4 separate regions of the Homo sapiens genome follow, and regions 2, 3 and 4 are each linked to region 1. The links are contacts of gene promoters, found by promoter capture Hi-C in blood cells and fetal thymus (Javierre and others, 2016). All regions are on one chromosome and are shown on one strand. The core of a region is centred on a gene start or on the middle of the fragment in contact, and the rest is flanking DNA. Distances in the headings are between cores, read along the strand shown.

Region 1 (2,700 bases), core at 201-2,700:
TCTAGTGACATCATACCTGCTAAAACATCAGAATGCAATGTATTACTCATGTGTTACTTGATATTAATAATGACTATGTCACTGGTTTATGTATTTACTATACTTTTTATTATATTATTATTTAACTTATTTTTTAAAAGTTAACTGTAAAACAGCCTCAGGCAGGTCCTTCAGGAGGGATTCCAGAAGAAGACACTGTTATAGGAGATGACAGCTCCCTGTGTGTCACTGCTTCTGAAAACCTTCCAGTGGGACAAGATGTGGAAGTGGAAGGCTGAGATTGATCATAATGACCCTGTGTAGGCCTAGGCTAATGTGTGTGTTTATGTCTTAGTTTTTTTAAAAAATGGCTAAAAAGTTAAAAAAAAAAAGAAAAAAAGCAAAGGTAGAAAAAAGCTTGTAGAATAAGGATATAAGAAAAATATTTTTGTACAGTGGTACAGTGTGTGTTTTAAGCTAATTGTTATTACAAAACAGTTAAAACGTAAAAAAATTTGGAAGATTTATAAAGTTATAGTGAGTGAAAGTTTATTAAAGGAAGAAAAGTATTTTTTATAAACTGAGTGTAGCCTAAGTGTACAGTGTTTATGAAGTGTTTAGTGGGTACAATAATGTCCTAGACCTTCATGTTGGGCCACCACTCACTCATTTACTCACCCACAGCAACTTCCAGTTCCGCAAGCTCCATTCATGGTAAGCGCCCCATACAGGTGTGCCATTTTTATCTTTTATACCGCATTTGTACTGTACCTTTTCCATGTTTACATATGTTTAGACACACAGATACTTACCATGAATTACAATGGTCTGCGGTATTCAGTACAGCCCCATGCTGTCAGGTTTGCAGCCTGGAAGCAGCAGGCCACACCACAGAGCCGAGGTGTGTCCAGGCTCCACCATCTAGGTCGTCAAAGTACATTCTGTGGTGTTCGTACAGCAACAAAATCGCCTAATGACGCAATCCTCAGACCTTACCCTGTTGTTAAGGTACACATGACTCTTATTTTGTTCCTCCCGGATTTCCTGCATTAATTTTTACTTTTTAAAATATTACATTAATATATTATTTGATTGCCAGTTTTTCTGGTGCTCCCTTAAATTGCACAGCCTGCCAGCCCTTCCCTGGCTCCCCTTTCTTTTTCTGCTTTTCTTAGTGCTTCAACAGACCTGGGACGTTCTTTTTCTTTCTTTTTTTTTTTAATTTTCTTCTTTTTTTCTTTTTCTTGTTTTGTTTTGTTTTGTTTTGAGATAGAGTTCGCTCTGTTGCCCAGGCTGGAATGCAGTGGTGCGTTCACGGCTCAATGCAGCAACGACCTCCAGGGCTCAGGCGATCCCCCGACCTCAGCCTCCGGAGAAGCTTGGACCACAGGCGCGCGCCACCACGCCCAGCTAATTATATATTTTTTGTAGAGACAGGTCTCACTATGTCGCCTAGGCTGGTCACAAATGTTGCTTTTTTTTCCCTCCAGGCAGAGCTAGTCTCTGTTTTGCCTACCTCGCCCCCTCCTGGGCCCAGTTAGAAACCTCATCACATAATTTCATTTCTTTCCAAACTTGAAACCTTCTAAACTTGAAACCTTCTAAACTTGAAACCTTCCAAACTCACCACTTGGCGGCGTTGATCCATCCGCCCGCGCACAAAGAGAAGATCGCGGAACTTCAGAGTTAAGGGGAGCCGTTTCCCGCAGCGCTAGCCGGCAGTATTTCCAAGGCGCAAGTTGCGGAGTTTCTGTTTCCTTTTTCCTCTGGCGAGCTTTGCGTTCCCTGTGCGCCGGAAGTGATCCCCTGCGTGGCTGGGCTGCTCGGGTTAGATCGTCAGGTGAGGGAGGAAGGGATAGCCAGCGCGAAGGAAGTGCTGGAGTCGTGTGTTTTGGCTGCGCGTGATCCTGCGTGGGTCGGGAGGTGTTTCTGTGTAGGTGTCTGGCCCTTTCATCAGTCGTGCGGAGGACCGCGTGATTTCCTTCCAGTTCTCCTCGGTTTTCAGGTGGTGGCGCCATCTTCGGTAAAGGGTGTCCACCTCTCCCTATGGTGTGGCTGGCTAGCCCGGGGGTCTCTACGCTGCTTGGTCTTTGTTAACGGAGATGAAGGCAGTAATTTTTCAGTAACAGGTTTCAGATATAAGTCCCTTGGTGATGCTAATATTTATGGAGGCCTTACTATGCATTAAGAACTTTTTTAGAAGTTTAGAAAATGGCAGTGAATAAAGCAGATACAAATCTCTGCTCTAAGGGAGCTTGCATAGTAATGAAATTTGAGAAGACAGTGGATTGGAAGTGGGATTAACTCAGAATCAAAATTTTGTCGATGGGTTGGAGGAAGAGGAAGTTATTTGGGACCAAAAAGACATACAGGTGTGAGTTTATTTGGGAGGGAGGAAGGAATCCTCATCAGATGTGCAGGAATGTTGGTACGTTGTGGTCACAAAATTGGAGTGCATAAAAATTATGAATATAGTTAGGAATTTAGGACTGGTGAGTTGTACTTTTGCCATAAGAGGTAATGTTTTTTTCTTATTTTGTTTTTTTCCTTCAGGAAAAGCCTAAAGATTAGACTGTAAGAAAAGAAAATAGAAGCCATGTTTCGAAGACCTGTATTACAGGTAGTCACTTGTCTGTATTAATACTGAGATGTATTACTATCAGCCACAGTGATCAGAAGACTTCTTTAGGCTTTTAACTACAGGGGCAAAAGACCTTTGAG
Region 2 (2,700 bases), core at 153-2,652, 1.6 Mb before region 1:
TCTTTGTTTAAATGCCTGTGAATCCCTCCCACGCCGGAGTCAAGAGGCTGTGGCGCCGCCCTTTATTAGCCTCACACTTTGATTACAAAACACACGAGTCGGCGGCCTGGCTGCGGAGGCGGCCCGAGCTCTCAAACGTCAAACCCGGAGCGCGGCGGCGGCTGAATCAGAGGGCAGCGTCCGCCGCCGCCGCCAGCCGGCCCCGCAGCGTCCGCCCGGCCGACTCAAGTTCGCCGGCACCGGCGCCCGGGCACAGCCGCAGGCGGTCCCGGTGTCGCCAGCTTCGAGCGATGGCAACTGCACTCTTTGTAAAGTTTAAGCCGCGGCGCGAGGGCAACGCAGGGGGTCCGGAGAAGCGTTCCCTTCGGGCCGCCGCAACCCACTCCATCTGCCCCAGTCCCGGCGACCCGGGTGTGTGCGGGGGCCCAGGACCGCGACCCGGGTCAACCTGCCGCCCGCCGGGGGCCCGGCCCCAACTTCCCCGGCACCTTTCAAGTCCCCGAGAGCGAGTGCCTCATCTGTTGCTCTGTTTACTCCGCGGAGCCCCGCCGAGCTGGCTGGCGCGGTCGCCTCTCCGGCCCGCCGCTGCCCCCGTCCCACTGGCCCAGGAAGTTTGATAAAGACGGGGAAGGGGGCGCGACAGGGACCCGCGGCGCGGAGGAGACGCGGGGCCGGGGCGACCCCATCGCCGCCCGGAAGGAAGGCAGGCGCGTCGGCCGGCCGGGCAGAGCGGCGGGGCGGCCGGCGACTCCGGCCGGAGCCCCGGGCGCGGCGGGGCGGGGCGGGGCGGCGGCGGCCCGGGCTGGCGAGGGGCTGCGGACCCGGCCGGCGCTCCGCCCGACGCCCCCGCCGCGCCCGCCCGGCCGCGTCCCCTCGCCCCAGGCTCCCCCTGCCAACTTATCCGCCGGCCCTCTTTGTTCGTGTTTGTTGTGGCGACTCTTCGCCCGGGCCAGGCGAGCCCACCGGCTCCCCTCTGGAGCCCGCCCGGCGAACCCGGGGCACCGCGCGCCCCACTGCCCGGCCGGGGGGCTAGGCACCGGGGCCCCCTGAAAGCTGGGCGCGGCGCGGCGGCCCGGCCCGAGGGAGGCGCGGGCGGCCGGCGGCGGCGGCGGTTGGTCGGTGGCCGGCGGTGGCGGCTGCGGGGCTGGAGGGGGTTTATTTACCTGCCGTGGAACCAGTCCTTGCAGATATCGCACTCGATCATGAAGCGGTTCACGTCGTACGGCTGCCGGCACACACAGTACACGGGCGGGGGCGGCGGAGGCGCCGAGGCCCGGCCGGGAGCCGCCACCGACACGGCTGCCGCGGCGGCTCCAGCTGCTGCTCCCGCGGCCACCGCCGCCGCCGCTCCGGCCATCTTTAAAAAACACACACACGCTCGCTCGCTACTCCGCTCGCCGACTGGAGCGAGCGCAGCCGCCAGCCAGCGCCGCCTCCTGCAGCAGCCGCGGCGGCGGCGGCGCCTCAGTGCGCGCGCGCGAGGCCGCGGCGGCTGGCGGAGGGGGAGGAGGCGCGCGCGACGCGCGAGGCCCAGACTCGGCTGCTTCCGGCGCTCGGCGCGGGGCCGTGCGTCTCGCGCACGTCTCTGGCGCCGGCGCGCGCTCCCCGCTCCTCTCCGCGACGGCCGGGCGGAGGGAGCTGTTGAAGGGCACGCAGGCGGCTGCGGGGGCGGAGGGAGCTGAGGCCCCGTGAGGACACGCGCGGTGGTGGCGGTGGCGGCGGGCGCGCGGCCGCAGCCGGAGGAGGACGGCGGGAGCGTGCGAGGAGCTGGCTCGGTTATTTCGGAGCGAGAGCCGAGGCCGGGGGAAGTTCCTGCGGAGTGCTCAAGGGCAGAAGAGGTGCCGCGTCCCGAAGAGGGGAAGCGGAGAAGTTTGCTGCTGCCCGGGTCGCCTCGCGACGCTGAGAGAATCGCCCAGCCCTCCGCAGCCGCCCAGCGAGAACCGGAGCTGCGGCCCCGCACCGGCGTGAGTCCAGCTGAGCTGACACGCCGAGCCGGTTGTGCCTTTCCGAGGGAGGAATGTGCCGTGGAATCCAAACTTTGGAAAACGTCCCACCCGAATTCCCAGCGAGCAGCAAGGAGACCAGAGCGTCGATGGAGCCACCGTTAGTTGCGGGAGGGCTGTCCCCAAGAGGAATTCATCACTGTCGTCCGCTGGGAGGGACCAACCTTGAAATGGGGTTGGTGGAGAGAGGGATAGAGAAGAGCCGGCGTGCTTATAAATAACAAAACTTAGCTATGAACCCTTCCGATTCCCAAGTGGGGAAGATGGGGTAAAATTCTAAGTGACTTCTCGCTCCGAAGAGGGATACCACAAAAAGCGGAGCGCAGGGTACTTGGCGTATAATAAGCCATCAATAATTTATGGGTGAAATTGAGAGCCAAATATAAGATGATAAACTGAAGAATAAAAACAGCTGACAAATACTGTATAGAAAAGATTGCGTTGGAATCATAACTGTGGATTGGAAGTGATGTTAAGGATTATTGGATTGAGTATTTGTAGCTGAATTTCTGCTGGCATTTCTATCAGTGGGGAAAGCCCTCACAGCTCCATAGGTAATTTTTGTTAGGGGAGGAAGAAGTGTTGTTCTGTCACCCACCCCCAGGCAAAGAGTCGCTGATCTAATTCTCCATTTCTTTCTTTCTTTCCTTTCTTTCCTTCCTTCCTTCCTTCCTTCCTTCCTTCCTTCCTTCCTTCC
Region 3 (2,700 bases), core at 19-2,518, 1.6 Mb after region 1:
GAGCCGCGGAGAAGGGGTGAAAGCAGAGGAGGAGGGGGTATCCATGGAAATAAACCGGGTCTCAGGGAAATCAGGCTTCTGGAGAGTGAGTTTGTTTGTAATAATAATACGAATTATTCTCTCAGCCTGAGGTCACCGGGAGGTGTAGGCGGGAGAAATTGGGAGTTGGAAAGGGGAAGAATGGGGGAGGGGGTGGGAGAGGGCCGGATGAATTCGCTGAGCGGCGAGAGTGGAGTGGGTGCCTGGGTGGGGGTCAGGGGCGGTAGCCAGGCAGAAGCTGGAGGGAGAAGATGGATTAGGAGGCGCCTCTCTTCCCTCCCCGCGTCAAAGGTAAATAAAGAGCCGGCCCCGCCCCGCCGGCCCCCGCTGACAGGTGCAGGCGGGTCCCCGGCCGCCGAGGCAGGGCCGGCCCCACCCTCCCGGGCCGCGGGCTCCCGACCCCTCCCAGCGCCTCGAAGCCCCCATCTCCTCCCCGCGTCCCCCAGCCCCTTCCCTCCACCCGGCCCTGGCCCTGTCCCTCCGGGCGTGGAACCCGGGCTCATCCCGCCCCCGCCCCAGAGGGAAAACGCACGTGAACAAAGCGAATCGGAGGAGGCAGGAACGACAGTAAAAGGCAACGGAGAGGGAGAGAGAGATGGGGCAAAGCACCCGAGCCAGATGGAGGCGGCGGCGGGGGGTGGCGTGGGGGGCGTGCGAAAGAAACTCGGGGCTGGCGCGGAGGCCGAGGGTCCTTCGCGGGGGGCTGCTCCGGAGTGGGGGATGCGAGGAGGCGCTGGGGACGGCGGAGCAGAGGCGGATGGCCTGGAGGGGCAGGGATGAGGGGACCGAGCGTCGGGCCGAGAGGCAGAGGAGAGGAGGGCGATGGAGAGGATGGAGAGGACCGCGCCTGCGGGAGGGCGACGGGGAGAAGGAAGCGAGCCGAGCGGGATGGCAGCCCCGGAGGCGCAAGACGAGAGCGGGCAGGAAGGAGGGACAGAGGGACCGCGGGCGGACGGAAGGAAAGTGAAGGAGCTAGCAGGGCAAGGCGGGTGCGGAGCGGGGCGCCCGGAGGCGCGAGGAGAGGGATGGGGGAGGGGGTCGGAGGGCGGCCCGGGGGGCCCAGCCCTGCCCCCGCCCGGCCGCGGTACCCACCCACAGTCCGGGAGCCGATGCAGCCCATGGCTCCGGGGGCCGCAGAGCCGGGCCCTCACCGACTCGGGGCGCGCGCCGGGGGGAGCACCGGGAGCCGCGCCGCCGCCCCAGCCGCTCTGCAGCGCCGCGGCTGTCTCCGCTCGGCTCCGCTCCCCCCTCCCCTCTCCATCCCTCCCCACGGCAGCTCCGTCGCCGCCGCCGCCGCCGCCGCCGCCGCCGCCTGGCTCCCCCGCCCCGGCTCGGCTCGCCGCGGCCGGGGAGGGGGCGGCCCGGGGATTGGCTGCGCCCCGCGCCTCCCCGCCCCTGCTCCGGCCGTGCCGGGGCGCTCCCTCGGGGATCTGGGGCCGCCGTCGCCGCCCCCCTCCTCCCGCCCGTGCCAAGCCCCGCTCCCGGGGCTCTCTCCTGGAGAACCCCGGCTTGGGTTTCAGGAGCCGAGGCACGAACCCAGGGCCTACCCCGAGGTTCTGGTTGATGGATTTTGCGGGCCGGGGTCAGGGGATGCCCTGAGAGAAAGTGGGGTGGTGGTGAGAATAAAGCCAGGCCCAAGGGCCTTTGGCCACCAAATTCCGCAAACACTTGTTTTCCTCCTGGGGCCGCATCTGGGACACACACAGGAACGTGATTGGACACAGCTTTGGGCTCTGTTGTTTCGAGTGCGCTATTTTGTCCATCCAAACAGAAGGTGAAGTCTTTGCAAGTGAATCGTGTAGTCCACTTCTCTGTGCTCGCTGGACATTCAGGGGTGGGTGTGGGGATGTGCAGATAGTTGACCTCCAGGCCTGGTTGGGGATTGGAGAATATGAGGAGGACAGTTCATTCGCAGTAGACTAACAACAATGTCAGGACCCGAGGCTGGCTAGGAGACATCGTCTTGAATCCAGTTTAACTTTTCTGAGACGTGATCTTCTCGGACAAATGAAAGCAAGGCGGTCCCGAAGCAGCAAAGAGAGAGAAAGATTGGCCTCTGGCTAGTGGGACTGGGCCAGGTAGATACCTCAAGCCCCATGGGGAGGAGATGAAGGTCTAAGTTGCAAGGGTTAAATGAGCACTGTGGTTACAGCAGGTAAGAAGTGGAGTCCAGAAAAGATGCATGAGAAAGGGCAAGGAGACCCTTTTGTCTAAGGTGTACCCAGAAAGCCCAAAGTGTGAGAGAGTGGGCAGGTGGGCATTCACAGAAGCAAGTGCCCATCCAGGCTCTGACTGCACCTCGCCCACTTTTAGGTCTCTCCGAGGTTGCAGAGAGAGAAGGCAATGGGCCAGGGGTCCCTGGTGTGGGCTCCTAACAGGGAGGCTAAGTCTTATGGATGCAACTTTCTAACCTTTAGATTATGAATGGAGAGCTACATCCCATGGGGTGGCAGATGAAGATGTGCAAGAAGAAGACACTAACAACTGAATTGCAGATTGAGGAGATGAGATTATGGTGACAGAATCCATCTTCGGTGTATGTGCATGAAGAAATAAGCCAAATCTACATCTATAAAACCGCGGGAAGGAATGAGATAATAATCAGTTGCAGGTCTGCTTAGATTTTAATCGTTTAGTGTAGTTCGTGGCAGGGTCTGATAC
Region 4 (2,700 bases), core at 56-2,555, 1.0 Mb before region 1:
TGATGAAAGTGGCTGACATACCGGGGACGTGAGCAGAACGGCTTGGCCACTTCCTTAACATGGCCCCGGGTTCACCCGCTAGTCCGGAACTACAGTTTCTCTGCCACAGTGTCTGCGCCTGTCCACTTGCAGGCATTAATTTTGGTGAATATGAAGAGAGTTAATATAACCAGTGTGTCCTCTTCTCCATGGCAGCGCCCAGGGACAGACCTGCAGTGACCACCACCTGCCCCTCTCTGCCAGGCCCAACCACGGGCTTTCTTCTCAGAGCTGAGCTGATGTGGCCGTCTGGCTGACTAGGAGGGGCCCGGGGTCAGCCTGGAGGGGGGGTATTTGTAAAGCTTAATTTCTCTTTTTTTTTTTTTTTAGGTAAAATCACAGTTTATCCCTGCACCTTCATAGATTATGTTGCTCGTCTTAGAGACCACCAGGCAGCGAATGGAGTCAAGCCCTTGCGCTCTCCGAGAGTCCTGCCCTGACTACAGGACTAGTTTCTCCCATTCTTTCCTTCTCCAGGATAAAGTTCCTCATTCCTGTCTTTTAGTGAGCAGTATGGTTTAGGTGGACAGAGATTCCTTTGGTGCAGTTTTTTTCAAGGAGGTGATGTTATTTTTTCCTTCCCAGGTCTTGAGGGGACATTCAAAGCAGGCAGAGAGGGGTTGGGATGGCTCCAGATGGCTGGGAGGGAGAACACCAGCTGGTCACGCAGCCCCTCGTGCCAGTGCGCATCAGGTACAGTGTGGAGGCGGGAAAGGGACAAAAAGACGGCAGTCTCTTCCCTGAGCCTATGCCAACCCAGCCTTAAAGCCAGTGGATCGAATCAAGCCATTTGTGGCATTATCTATTGCTGCGTACGAACTTAGCCTGGCACAATGCCTGTAATCCCAGCTACTCGGGAAGTTGAGGCAGGAGAATCGCTTGAGCCTGGGAGGCAGAGGTTGCAGTGAGCCGAGATGGTGTCACTGCACTCCAGCCTGGGTGACAGAGCAAGGCCTTGTCTCAAAAAGAAAAAAAAAAAAAAAAAAGAATTATACACCACTCAGTTTTAGGAGGGGCAGAACACGGGGAGAGCCCTACAGGATCAGAGGGGCAACCAACAAGCTGTTTCAGAAGGCATGGGGCAGCTCAGCAACCATAAGTTATGCGTGGGCTTTGCTCTCGGGAGAGAGGTTTCCTGCAGCCGAAGGACTCACAGCTAATCTGGGTCAGGAGCGGCTGCCGGCTCCCCCACTCCTGGAGATGAGCGACTCTGTGACGTCACGGGAGGCGCGGGCGGAGCGCCGGGGAAGCGAAGTAGGCAGGGGCGAGGCGGCTGGGGACCGCGGGGCGGACGGGAGCGAGTATGTCCGCTCTGACTCGGCTGGCGTCTTTCGCTCGCGTTGGAGGCCGCCTTTTCAGAAGCGGCTGCGCACGGACTGCTGGAGATGGTGGAGTCCGTCAGTGAGTGTGGGGCTGGGGATGGGGGCCTCGCCGGCCTGTAGCGGACAGCGCGGGTCCCTGGGACGCTCTCACCTTGACTGGGGCGCCTGAAGAGGCCGCGTCCCGAGGCATGCTGGGACCTGTAGTCCGCGTGTCTCCTGAAGCCGCGACTCGAGGAGAGGGACCCCGCTGGCCGGAGGGAGAGGGAGAGACTTCGCTGGGCAGATGGGACACCGTGTGCAGGGCCGTCATGGTAGTAGGGGCCGCCTGCCCTCGGGAGACGCACGCGTGAATGCGGAGCGGGCTGAGCCAGTCGGCGCCGGCGCGGGCGGTCCAGGCGGAGGAAGCAGCGTGCGCGGCGGGTGTGGACGCTCCTGGAGCGAGGCGGGGGGCGGCGGCGGTGAGGCCTAGGGAGGGCGCGGTCCAGGGTCCCGGTGCCTGGCTGCGGAATTTAGGGTAGAGTCTGTTCGGCAGCCTTTAATCGGAGACGTCACGTGGCCGCTTTTTAATGCTGAAAAATCACTCTGGCTGCAGGGAGTGGAGGCTGTCGCCCAGAGAGAGCGCCGTCGGGTGAGAGGAGCAGAAAGCCGGAAGCCAACGCTGGGGCAGCCGTGGCGTTTAGGAGAGTGACAGGCAGAGCCGCCCGCGAGGTGGCCCGAGACGCAGACCGGAGGGCGGAGGGCTGGGGGTGCGAGGTAGGGAGCGGGTGCGAGGTAGGGAGCAGCTGCCGAAGCCGAGTTAGTGGTGTGCAGAGATTCCGTAAGAGCAGGACTGGAAAAGAGTCATGGATGATTCCAGGTCCCTTAGATCATCAGCTACACTTTACCAAGAGGCAGTGTGGGGTCGTGATTCCAAGCGGGATTCTGGCCGCACAGTGGCTGGGTTCAAATCCCACCTCTGCCACACTCCAGCTGTGGGACCTTGGAAAAGTTTCTTATTCTCTTAATGCCTCAGTTTCCTCACCCATTTGGCGTCCATTTGCAAGGAACTAAATGAGTTACTGTTATCTAAAGCGTGTTTGTGTGTTTTAGGAGATGGGGTCTAACTCTGTCAGGCAGGCTGGAGTGCAGTGGCGCGATCCTAGCTCACTGCAGCCTCTAACTCCTGGGCTCAAGTGATTCTCCAGCCTCGGCCTCCCAAAGTGTTGGGAATACAGGCGAGCCACTGCGCTTGGTCTCACTAAAGTGTTTAAAACAATTGCTGGTGCCTGCTAAGGACCGTACAAGTATTCTTTAACTGTTGTTGTTATTAAGGAACTGAGGCCCAGGAAATGAAAGGAGT

Evidence for each region. Contacts are between HindIII fragments. The CHiCAGO score rates a contact against its expected background, and 5 or more counts as called.
Region 2: the fragment with the promoter of KDM7A here is called in contact with the fragment with the promoter of WEE2-AS1 in region 1 in 1 of 17 cell types (activated CD4 T cells); the score reaches 6.3 in activated CD4 T cells.
Region 3: a contact is called between the fragment with the promoter of FAM131B here and the fragment with the promoter of WEE2-AS1 in region 1, in 2 of 17 cell types (fetal thymus and activated CD4 T cells). The highest score is 9.2, in fetal thymus.
Region 4: a contact is called between the fragment with the promoter of NDUFB2 here and the fragment with the promoter of WEE2-AS1 in region 1, in 16 of 17 cell types (naive CD8 T cells, total CD4 T cells, non-activated CD4 T cells and 13 more). The highest score is 24.2, in naive CD8 T cells.

Annotation. Positions count from the first base shown.
Region 1 is chr7:141,736,592-141,739,291 of GRCh38, forward strand. It overlaps WEE2-AS1 (WEE2 antisense RNA 1), which reads right to left and starts at 1,451. Exons shown (of 4, transcript NR_199841.1): 1 at 792-1,451. It overlaps SSBP1 (single stranded DNA binding protein 1), which reads left to right and starts at 1,767. Exons shown (of 7, transcript NM_003143.3): 1 at 1,767-1,819; 2 at 2,533-2,599. The coding sequence starts at 2,576. RefSeq lists an enhancer at 784-1,669. The HindIII fragment of the contact is 7,644 bases long and covers 1,356-2,700 here.
Region 2 is chr7:140,175,581-140,178,280 of GRCh38, forward strand. It overlaps KDM7A (lysine demethylase 7A), which reads right to left and starts at 1,403. Exons shown (of 20, transcript NM_030647.2): 1 at 1,164-1,403. The coding sequence starts at 1,357. KDM7A-DT (KDM7A divergent transcript) reads left to right here and starts at 1,681. Exons shown (of 1, transcript NR_024451.1): 1 at 1,681-2,700. RefSeq lists silencers at 132-411, 422-601, 1,242-1,341, 1,382-1,811 and an enhancer at 1,036-1,959. The HindIII fragment of the contact is 8,961 bases long and covers 1-2,700 here.
Region 3 is chr7:143,361,445-143,364,144 of GRCh38, forward strand. It overlaps FAM131B (family with sequence similarity 131 member B), which reads right to left and starts at 1,269. Exons shown (of 7, transcript NM_001031690.3): 1 at 1,132-1,269. The coding sequence starts at 1,159. FAM131B-AS1 (FAM131B antisense RNA 1) reads left to right here and starts at 262. Exons shown (of 3, transcript NR_183342.1): 1 at 262-613; 2 at 1,746-1,813; 3 at 2,457-2,700. The HindIII fragment of the contact is 5,612 bases long and covers 1-2,700 here.
Region 4 is chr7:140,695,403-140,698,102 of GRCh38, forward strand. It overlaps NDUFB2 (NADH:ubiquinone oxidoreductase subunit B2), which reads left to right and starts at 1,306. Exons shown (of 4, transcript NM_004546.3): 1 at 1,306-1,440. The coding sequence starts at 1,343. It overlaps NDUFB2-AS1 (NDUFB2 antisense RNA 1), which reads right to left and starts at 1,675. Exons shown (of 2, transcript NR_024454.1): 1 at 1,513-1,675; 2 at 1-1,418. RefSeq lists an enhancer at 1,315-1,624. The HindIII fragment of the contact is 6,958 bases long and covers 340-2,700 here.